2 separate regions of the Homo sapiens genome follow, and region 1 is linked to region 2. The links are contacts of gene promoters, found by promoter capture Hi-C in blood cells and fetal thymus (Javierre and others, 2016). All regions are on one chromosome and are shown on one strand. The core of a region is centred on a gene start or on the middle of the fragment in contact, and the rest is flanking DNA. Distances in the headings are between cores, read along the strand shown. Region 1 overlaps LINC01653 (long intergenic non-protein coding RNA 1653). Region 2 holds the start of USH2A (usherin).

Region 1 (5,416 bases), core at 103-2,602, 1.6 Mb before region 2:
CTAACGCCTGTAATCCCAGAACTTTGGGAGGCTGAGGTGGGTGGATTGCTTCAGCCAGAAGTTTGAGAACATCCTAGGCAACATGCAAAACCCTATCTTCACAAAACAAAAAAATACAAAAATTAGCCAGGCGTGGTGGCGCCTGGTCCCAGCTATTTGAGAAGCTAAGGTGGGAGGATCACTGGAGCCTGGGAGGTGAAGGCTGCAATAAGCTGAGATGGCACCACTGCATTTCAGACTGGGCAACAGAGTGACACCCTGTCTCAGGAAATAAATAAATAAATAAACAAATAAAGATGAGGGAGAAAAGCCTGAAAGAGTAGTGTAAAATGCAAAGCATAATGACATAGATATAAAACAAAATAAGAGGGCAGACACAGAGAATGAAGAATGAATACTCCTACCAAGTATTATAAATATGCATCTTCCTAGGAGTTAGGATCCTATACTGTGCCTCAATTGTTAGGAATAACTTTGCTTATTAAGCTTCTGAAATCAATGAAGGAAGCAACAACTCTTTCTTGTCCACCACTATGTCCACCCTGCCCTAACACAGGGTATGATGATACATAATAGGTACTCAACAAACAATTGTATAATTAACAAATTAACTAATTATATTCCAGAGGGATAGATCAGAAAGATAGAACTAATCACAGTTATAATAGAAAACAATTCCAAGCTCAATAAATACCAATCTAAAATTGTAAGGGATGTTTAAAATCTAGGTAATTTTGATTTCTTTTAATCAAACTATCATATTTCCTAGTATACCCATATACTAGGAAAAATTTTGAATTTTAAGAATAATTGCAATAATAACTGTAAGCATCCAAATAGAAAAGCTAGGTTTCCATAAAGAAACTGGCTTCAGACTTCTCTTCTACCACATTCAATGACAAAAGATGATAGGGAAACAGATTGCCACTTACGAATTAAATAGCAAGCCAACTTATCACTCATGTGCTAAGCCAAAAAGGCTCTCAGCTTAAGAAGGGCTCAAAAATATGCCACTTTTATACCTTGTCTAAGAAGAAATACCATAAAGATAAACTCAAGCAAAATGAAAAATGAATTAAAGCATCAGAATGGTATAACATAAATGAATGGTGATTAAACAGAGCTAATGCATTATTACAATAAACAATAAGTAGAGGCCTGGTGCAGGTCATGGGAGGATCACTTGAGCCCAGGAGTTCGAGACCAGCCTGGACAGCATAGTGAGATCCTGTCTCTACAAAAAAAAAATTTCAAAATCTCCAGGGTGCAGTGGCACACTTCTGTAGTCCCAGCTACTTGGGAGGCTGAGGTGGAAGGAGTGCTTGAGCCTAGGAGGTTTAGTCTGCAGTGAGCTATGGTGACATCACTGCACTCCAGCCTGGGCGACAGAGCAAGACTCTTTTTAAAAACAAAAAAATGAAAACAAAACAAAAAAACCCCAGTAATTATAAGTATCGTTAACAAATTTAATGCAAATATCCAGAAATGTTTACTGAGAGAGATGATACTAGACTAGAATGTTTCTGAAGGTTTTTCATGTTATGGCAGAGAAAATTCTGTTTCTACAACACACTGGCATAAATGGATGAGCCTGCCAGCAGCCGCAGGCCCCACTGAGTAGCTCTGTTAGCTGAGGGAGTCAACATCCGGGCACACCTGTAGCCAGCGTACCCATTGTACATAGATTTAGATTTAGCTCTCACCGAGTTGGAAAACCAATGGAGTTTTTAATAACAAGTAAATGGTAGGAGAAAAAAATCACAAAACAAATCTGAATAAAAAGTATGCTTTCAATTTGGCTATAATTTACATAATTGGCATACACACATTCACAGGAATGTTAATATATTATCTAGGTGGTAGGAGAGATTTTTTAAAATACTTTTCCTTATTTTCCAAATAGTCTACAAAGAGTTTTTTAATAATCCCCAAAATAGTACACATTTTTCATAGTTTCCAAAATAAAACCCAATAAGGGTTTTAAAAACAAAAGCTGTCTTGGCACTAAATACTGACAGATTAATGAAACAGAATAGCCTTGGGTGTGTGATACTAATTCTAATATGTATGTGTGAGTACAAATAAAAATGTGTAAATATATAAATAAAAGAAATAAGACTCCAAATATGAGCTGGGTGTGATGGCTGGTGGTTATCAGCCCAGCTACTTAGGAGGATACAGTGAGAGGATATCTTGATCCTTTGAGCCCAGAAGCTTGAGACTAGGCTGGGCAGCACAGTGAGGCCCCAGCTAAAAAAAGAAAAAAGAAAAGAAAAAGAAGCCAAATACATAACTATGTTAATAGACATGGTGTTTGCAATGTGATATATCCATTAATTTAAATAAGGGGTATTATAATAATTATTATTTTATCTATAATATCATTAGTCATTATAATTTCCAAATGTACCTTAACTTCTTGTTTTTTTTTTTTTTTTTTTTTTGGAGATGGAGCCTTACTCTGTTGCGCAGGCTGGAATGCAGTGGCGTGATCTTGGCTCACTGCAACCTTCACCTCCCAGGTTCAAGTGATTCTCCTGCCTCAGTCTCCCAGGTAGCTGGGATTACAGGCACCTGCCACCACTTCCAGCTAATTTTTGTATTTTTAGTAGAGACAGGGTTTCACCATATTGCTCAGGCTGGTCTCAAACTCCTGGCCTCAAGTGATCTACCCTCCTTGGCCTCCTAAATTTCTGGGATTACAGGTGTGAACCACGCTCCTGGCCGTACCTTAACTTGTTTTTTTGTTTTGTTTTTGTTTTTATTGCTGTGTTGCCCAGGGTGGACTCGACCTCCTGGGCTTAAGCAATCCTCCTGCCTCAGCTCCCCCTACTTTCAGCATTTCAGCTTTTCTTGGCATTTGCCTTTGTAATTATGTCTGAAAGTCATCCCCCAACTTTCCCCACTTCCCAGGCAGCTAGTCTGTGGAACTAAGTGTCTTAGTATTGAACTCCTCAGCTGCTCATTTAATGTATTTTCCTTAGAAAAGTTACTGTCTGCTTCTCATTGATCCTAATGGGTGCATCTTCTGTCTCATTCTGTCCTAATTCACTATTTAATTTGCTCAGCTTTAATTTTTGTTATTCTCTGAGCAGCAGGAGAAAAAGCAGCTCTGTAGTTATGAGAATTCTGTAGAACTAATGTCTGGCTGTACCAATGAGGGATTTATATATTTTTGAATCACTCCTGCTTGTGTCTCCTCTTCTGCATTATGAAGGGTAATTTAACCAGCAGCCACAACAGACAAACTGACATCTTGGTGGCTGAACATACTAAAAGTTGTATGTTACAGTCTCATACTGCACTTCCTCATTTCTTTTTCTTTTCTTTTTTTTTTTTTGAGATGGGGTCTCGCTCTGTCGCCAGGCTGGAGTGCAGTGGTGTAATCTTGGCTGACTGCAAACTCTGCCTTCCGGGTGCAAGCGATTCTCCTGCCTCAGCCTCCCAAGTAGCTGGGACTACAGGCTCATGCCACCACCCCCAGCAAATTTTTGTATTTTTAGTAGAGACGGGGTTTCACCATGTTGGCCAGGATAGTCTCAAACTCTTGACCTCGTGATCCGCCCACGTCGGCCTCCCAAAGTGCTGGGGTTACAGGTGTGAGGCACGCGCCCGGCCCTTCCTCATTTCTTAGCTACACAATCTGATGCTTGTGGCCCCAAGGTTACTGAGGAAAGGAAAGAGAGAGCTGAGACTCAACAAAATGTTTTTAGGGCCAGACCTGGAAGTGACTTATGTAATATCTGTCCACACTTCATTAGCTACAATTTAGCCCACAGCAACTTAACTGCATGGCAATCTGGGAAATGTAGTTTTGCTGCGTGTCCTACGTGATGCCTGACTTTGTCAGCTTCTTGTGATGCTGTCTCCACATTTTCTTTCTTTCAGCCTAACAAAATATTGAATGCATGTCAAAATGCTTTTTGTCACTAGTGTTATAGGACAGGGTAGCTCAAATATTTGCTGTGATTATGAACAATAATCCAGCTATCTTGATTTCATACTCTAATACATTAGACAACATGTAAAGTGAAAACAAAATGTTTATATTATATATATATATATATATATATATATATATTTGCTTTTGCAAACCTATGTAATTATTGGCACTTTGGGACTTATTGGCAAATATTTCTAACTGATTATGTTAAATTTCCTAACCCAACATTTGAGGTGAGAAGGCCACAGGCCTCCTATTCAGTGCACAGACCTCCTATGCAGCAGGAACTCAATAAACATTAGTGGATTATATAAATCCACTTTGTCATCTACTTTGGGAAGGTGGTAGTTGAGGCAGAAAGAAAGAAGCTTTTGGATTCCTGGTGTCTTCTGTGCCGTTCATTCTCTTGACCACTGGGGCAGAATGTAAGTTTAAATGTATCTACTTTGTGTCTCTTCCCTCCTTTCTCTCTCCTTTATTTTTTTTTTCTCCAAGCCCAAATGTAGGTATGATGGGATAAGGGGCAGTAAATAGCTTAGCAAGGGCAGGCAGAGGGGTTTGGAGGAAAGAATAAAGAGGGCACCTACACATTCACATAACTAAATTCATAAATTATAGACTCAAAGCTGAGAGTTGAGCTATTTTTTAGGTATTATAGGAAGTAGGAACAATGTCAATTTCACATTTTGCCAGTATCTGAGATGGTGAAAGCATTGCTCTTCTGTTTTTAGTTGACACCAGATTGACAATGTTCTAATTCCTTAGAAGTCAGGCCGTTTTTCTCTTTATTTTTAATGTCTTGTAGAAATAAGAGAACAATTCATGAAAAAACAGCAATAAAGAACAATTTATTGGCTGGGCGCAGTGGCTCATGCCTATAATCCCAGCACTTTGTGGGGTGGAGGTGGGAGGATCCCTTGAGCCTGGGAGTTCAAGACCAGCCTGGGTAACATAGTGGGACCCTGTCTCTAAAAAATATTATTAAAAAATTAGCTAGGTATGGTGGTGCACACCTGTGGTCCCAGCTACTTGAGAGGCTGAGGTGGGAAGATTGCTTGAGCCTGGGAGGTTGAGGCTGCAGTGAGCTGTGATCATGACACTGTACTCCAGCCCGCGTGACTCTGTCTCAAAAAAAAAAAAAAAAAAGAAAGAGAGAGAACAATATATTCAAATTTTCAATGTCTCCTTTCTGAGTAATTGCAAATATATATTTCACATATATGCAGACTGGAAGCCATTAATAGAATTTCACTGGTAAACCTAAACATTCCCAATGTAAGGTTTCATAGAAAACATCAAAACCACTCTGTTCCACTTTGGGTTCCCAGCCAAAATTAATTAGGGTCTCATCAAGAGAAGCACTCACCTTGACTTTCAATGAGCCATAGATAAATAATGAACTAAGTTTCAGTTGACAGTAAAAGGGCTTTGCTTAAAGGGAAAAGAAGGTTTAATACTTGGTTTGGGGACAGC
Region 2 (5,682 bases), core at 1,163-3,662:
ACTTTGCCATTCAGTCTTTGATAAGGGGAGTTGATTTCAAAACCCTTGAATCTGTGCTAGGTCACACGACTTGCTCCAGCCAATGGAACATTAGCAAATGTGATGTAAGCAGAGGCTTGAAAATACTTTCACATTAGGGCCTCCCACGTTATGTTGCTGGAAAATTTTCTGCTGCTATCAGAATGAGCCTGCAGTAGACTCCAATGCCTGTCAAACCAACTGCTAAATGAGTGAGGACGAGTCAGACCATCCAGCCCCAGACAAGCTTATGCAGACCAGAACTACCTGGTGAATCCACAGAAATGTCAAGAAAGGAAATAGCCCATGGCTACATATGTTTAACTAGAGGTGCCCTCCATATACATCTACTTTCCTTTTAAAAAATCTGTACTTATTTCCCAGGCACTTATAGGGGTGATGGAACTCTTAGTGTCTAATTCATTTATCAGATGCACCCTCAGGATTGATAGCCCTGAATTGCAAAGGTTGAGGGATATGTGAATCCATTGTTTGCCTTTGCAAATAATAGGCAGAGTTTCTTAATGTGGACTAGAGTTGCTAATCTTAGATTATCCATTTGAGTCATGATTTCCTACTATACAAAGCAGGAGTTGTTATGGGGTAGAAGAATTTTTATCCCAGGAATGACAAAGATAAGTTGAAGCACTACAGTAAAAAATTAGAGTTAGACATGGACACGTAGAAGGGAACAACAGACTCTACAGACTCTAGGACCTACTTGAGGCTGAAGGGTGGGAGGAGGTGGAAGATTGAAAAACTACCTATCAGGTACTGTGCTTATTACCTGGATGATGACATAATCTGTACATCTAACCCCCATGACACACAATTTACCTATATAACAAACCTCCAAATGTACCCCTGAACCTAAAATAAAAGTTTAGAAAAAATGAGAATTAGTTCTTGGATTCACAAGATATAAAGAGAAGCCAGCCATTGAATACCTTGTTTGAAAGTAGGTTGACTTCATGTTTTGTAGCAGGTCTGAATAATCCATTTGTCTAATTCACTGTGCTCTATAATACCTATTTTCAAAGATAGTTTCCCAAGTTCTGAGAAGTCCTTACATATTAGCTGACTTTATACTAAAATTTGGGTTTAAAAAAATTTTTTTTTAGAGACATGGTCTCACTCTGTCATCCAGGTTAAAGTGCAGTGGTGGTGTGATAATAGTTTACTGCAGCCTCGAAATCCTGGGCTCAACAACCCTCCCACCTCAGCATCCTAAGTAGCTGGGACTACGAGTGTGTGCCACCATGCCTGGCTTAAATTTTTTTATTTTTATTTTTATTTTTATTTTTTTTTTGGAGACGTGGGATTTCACTATGTTGCACAGCATGGTCTTGAACTCCTGGCTTCAAGCAATCCTCCCACCTTGGCCTCCCAAATCCCTAGGAGGCACAAGCATGAGCCATTGTGCTTTGCCCTAAAATTTGTTTTAAATTAAAGTTTTTCTGGTAAGAATGTAATAGCGTATTTTGACAAAGGGTGAGAAAGGCTTCTTCTGGAAGCAACTAATGCTAATTGATAAAATTGATATATAAATGGGTTGTGGTTTCCAGCTCTCTTCTGGGAGAGAAATAAAAGGGAATCTAATAAAGAACAATGTTGGTTTTTCTCTGGCTGCTTTACTAACAAGAAACACCATGAAACATTTCTCTCATTTCTAAACATTTCTATAAAAAAGATAACTTATAGAGAACAAAATCACAATCGACCAGTTATTTCCCAAACAAATTTTCCATTTTTACAATACAAAGGGAAAGCTACAAGTATTAGCTGATTTAGAATATTTCTCATCTAGGATGAGATGTCCCAGATGGCAGAGTAGAGAGAGTTTTGGATATAATTGAAACTCTATAGAATTGGTGGCAAATGTGCACATATACACACACACACACGTTCCTATCCAATTAAGCAGCCAAAAAGTCAGCAATCCCATTGCTTCTTTAGTTTAATTAAAGTCACTGATTTTCCAAACCCAACATTTAGAGATCACATCAGATGCTACTCATAATGTAAGGAAGCATGTATTATGGAGAGGTTATCCTGGGTGAAAGGTACAGCAACAACTGAATAGTCAACCGAAACTTCTATCAATGGGCCAAGCTTTGGGAGCATCAATATATAAAAGTTTAGAATTCCATTTTGTATCCTCTTCTCCCCCAAAAAGAAAGAGCACTGGAAATTATTCCTTGTGTGGTGTTTAATAGTGGTAGATCATTTTGATTAAGGAATTAAATGGATTGAGGTGCATGAGAGCAAGAAAGAGGAGGGGCAAGAGGGGGGATTATAGGATAAGGTGTACTGCTACTTTAAAATTATGTATGCATGATCCCATCCAGGTCCCTCCCACTGCTTGAGGTACCAGCGGAAAGCTTGGGCAGCTCAGTTCCAAGAGGGCCACCAAGCAGACCACGCTCTGAGCTTCAGGTAACCAAGTGTTTGCTCTGCAGAATACTTTACCTGGGCACCCAAGTCTTCCTTCCAGCATTCCTGCTGCTACAGCCTATTTGCTGAGTAACCAGGGGTTACAGCAGCGTTGCCAGGCAACGAGGGACAGCGGTCCTGTTGAAGAGCCATTTGTCACACTGAGGGGACTGGTTGAAATGCAATAAAGAAATGGTAACTCAGCTTATTTATCAATACAATTACTTGCACAGTATTAGGGATCCATGTGTAACCTACAAATTCATAGTCATATGAGGAAACACAGAAACATTTTGCTAAATATTAAAGCATAGGACAGACAGATGGTGTTGGGTTTCTAATCAGCTTTACTCTGAGCTTAAAGTTGCTGCACATGCTGGGATAAGGGGAAAGGCCCAAAGTCCTTTGCCAGCTTTATTTTGGGCATCTGTAAGTTAGCTCTGGGTTACAATGTACAGTGCATGTGTAAAGAAAATCTACAAGATTCTTTTCCCTGTTAAGTAGAGCTGGTAATGCCATTGCTAATTCCCTGGGGTGAAGTAACAACACAAAATTATTGTATGTGTAATATATTATTAATAATTATATATATATAAAACACACACATATATTATATAAATATTTATGTATAACTGGTTATAAATATTACTGGTTGTCCTGTGGACTTATAAAGTGCTTGATTTGCCCAATGCAATCAAGAGATTTACCAAAAGGATGAGTATTTTACTCTGAGCACTGTGCTTCAAAATGTTTTTTGAGAAGTTCAGTAGTGTTGCTTCTAGGAGCTCAAAGTCCTCAGGCCTGGGATGAGCTTCAGTTTTAAAGGTGCAGCAGCTTTCCCTTGACGCCCTACGTTTTTGATTCCCAGATACCAGCAGCTACTCATGTCTTCGCCATTGCTAAGAACGTCGTTGGTATTACCTTACTCTGAGAACGTGTCTGCAGTTTCCAGAAAATGGAGTATCGCAACATCACTTAAAGTACCCTGCTTCAAAGTATTGCTGGCAAGTGGCGTGGGCCTGATTATTTATTTAGAAATGCTTTATCAGGAGGAGAATGCTTTTTTGTAAACATGAATTGCCCAGTTCTTTCATTGGGCTCTGGCTTCTTGTTTCAGGTCATTGAAATGTTGATCTTTGCCTATTTTGCTTCAATATCCTTGACTGAGTCACGAGGTCTTTTCCCAAGGCTGGAGAACGTGGGAGCTTTCAAGAAAGTTTCCATCGTGCCAACCCAAGCAGTATGTGGACTCCCAGACCGAAGCACTTTTTGTCACAGCTCTGCTGCTGCTGAAAGTATTCAGTTCTGTACCCAGCGGTTTTGTATTCAGGATTGCCCATACAGATCTTCACACCCTACCTACACTGCCCTTTTCTCAGCAGGCCTCAGTAGCTGCATCACACCAGACAAGAATGATCTGCATCCTAACGCCCATAGCAATTCTGCAAGTTTTATTTTTGGAAATCACAAGAGCTGCTTTTCTTCTCCTCCTTCTCCAAAGCTGATGGCATCATTTACCTTAGCTGTATGGCTGAAACCTGAGCAACAAGGTGTAATGTAAGTAGTAGTGTAGGTATAAGCTTTCATAGGTCCCCAAAACCAGTAGTAGTGAAGATCATTTCAGCCTGAATTCCAAACCGGAAGTGAAGGCTATATAGAATTCATGGTATTGAAGACTAACTCTTCCAGTTGTTTCCCCAATTAAAATTTTTTTCTCTTCTATGGATGAAATGGACCATGAAAAAAAATGTGAAAATAGTTTATCAAAGGCAAATGTGTTTATGCAGGAATCATTTATTTTCTATAGCTTAGCGCGACCTTTGGTCTTAGCCTTCAAAGCCTAAAGAAGACTCAGAGTGAGTTTTAAGGCATGGAAACTTGTAATTAATACAAATAATTAATATTTTCAAAATCTTGAACTGGGTTTATATAATCAACATTTCCTTACTAGGGTATAACATTTTCATTAGGCAGATAGTTCTCCCAGTCCTTGGGACTGTTTTCTTCATCCTCGTTTCCCCAAGAAGAGCTGTTTGTTTGACTCATGGAAGATGTTCAGTAATATAAATTGAATATATAAATAACCCTCCATCTCTAAAAACATATAGCTTTTAGTTCTTTATCTTGTGGTATTTTCATTTTCCAATTAGTTAGGAAATATGTAGGTAAGTGTGAGAGATTCTCAAAAGCTTTCATGCTGTTCATCCCAGAGAAATGCCTTCAATGAGTCTGGGTCTTATTACTGCCATTTTTTGTTATTTAATCACCAGTTTTTCATTCTGTAATCTTTTCTCAAGCTGATATCTAATGAGTTTCTTCTAAATATTTATTGCCAACCTGGAGATTTTAATATACAGGACAGTTTTGAGGAATTTTTGCTTATCTTTTTTCTTCCTAGAGGGCTTTTGGCCCTTTCTCTTGTGACATTTTCTGTGTGTGACAGCGTTGGCTGGATATCTAAAAACTTGTGAAACAAACCAGAAAAGGATTACAATCTCATAAGCAAATAGGACTTAAATGTTTTTGGTGTTTAGTTTCAATTTGCCAAGTGAAAGTTGGCATGTCTTCATTTTGTTTTAAATTTGGATTAATCACAAAATTAATCACAAACCATTCCCATTTCTACATCTCTCCTCAAAGAAAACCTTGTTTTCTTACTGTTTGAAATTCTAGTAAATTCAAGCTACTCAGTTTATATAATTAACATCTGAAGAGTCTTAAAACATTGTCTTTTGACAAATAGGGCTAAGATAAAATATCCTTCTGAGCTTGTAGGGACATATCTGTACCAAATTCATCTTCTATTGACATCATTTTGTATAAATAAGACAGAGAAGTATTTACAGGGTTGGAAGAACATGGTTAATGGTTTTGAGAGTTCCTTGTATCAAGGTCGTTTCCATTTTCAAAATTAAAATACCTTTGGGAATTGGGGGAATTTCGGGGTGTTTGCACTAGATAAGTAAAACAAACAAAACATGGATTATCCAATTATTGTTTATTCAGGAGCAGAATAAATCCAGTTCCTAAATATTTTGCTACCTGCCTTCCTCTCACATTTATTATCTACCAAAGCTAGTATGTTTACAAGCAAACAAAATAGCAAGGAAGATAATCAATAACATATTAAGAAATGCATTTTCAGTAAGCTTGGGAAAATAAGTCTGCATTTGGTAAATACATTCTTGAGTAATGGTCGAATTCTCACTTGTAGATTTAAACAGAAGAAAA

Evidence for each region. Contacts are between HindIII fragments. The CHiCAGO score rates a contact against its expected background, and 5 or more counts as called.
Region 1: a fragment that was not itself captured here is called in contact with the fragment with the promoter of USH2A in region 2 in 1 of 17 cell types (M0 macrophages); the score reaches 6.1 in M0 macrophages.

Annotation. Positions count from the first base shown.
Region 1 is chr1:218,050,803-218,056,218 of GRCh38, reverse strand. It overlaps LINC01653 (long intergenic non-protein coding RNA 1653), which reads right to left. Exons shown (of 4, transcript NR_110794.1): 3 at 4,957-5,064. Among named protein-coding and RNA genes, the nearest start is that of LINC01653, 10 kb to the right of the region's middle. The HindIII fragment of the contact is 1,728 bases long and covers 489-2,216 here.
Region 2 is chr1:216,420,178-216,425,859 of GRCh38, reverse strand. USH2A (usherin) reads left to right here and starts at 2,412. Exons shown (of 72, transcript NM_206933.4): 1 at 2,412-2,646; 2 at 3,320-4,008. The coding sequence starts at 3,524. The HindIII fragment of the contact is 1,632 bases long and covers 2,402-4,033 here.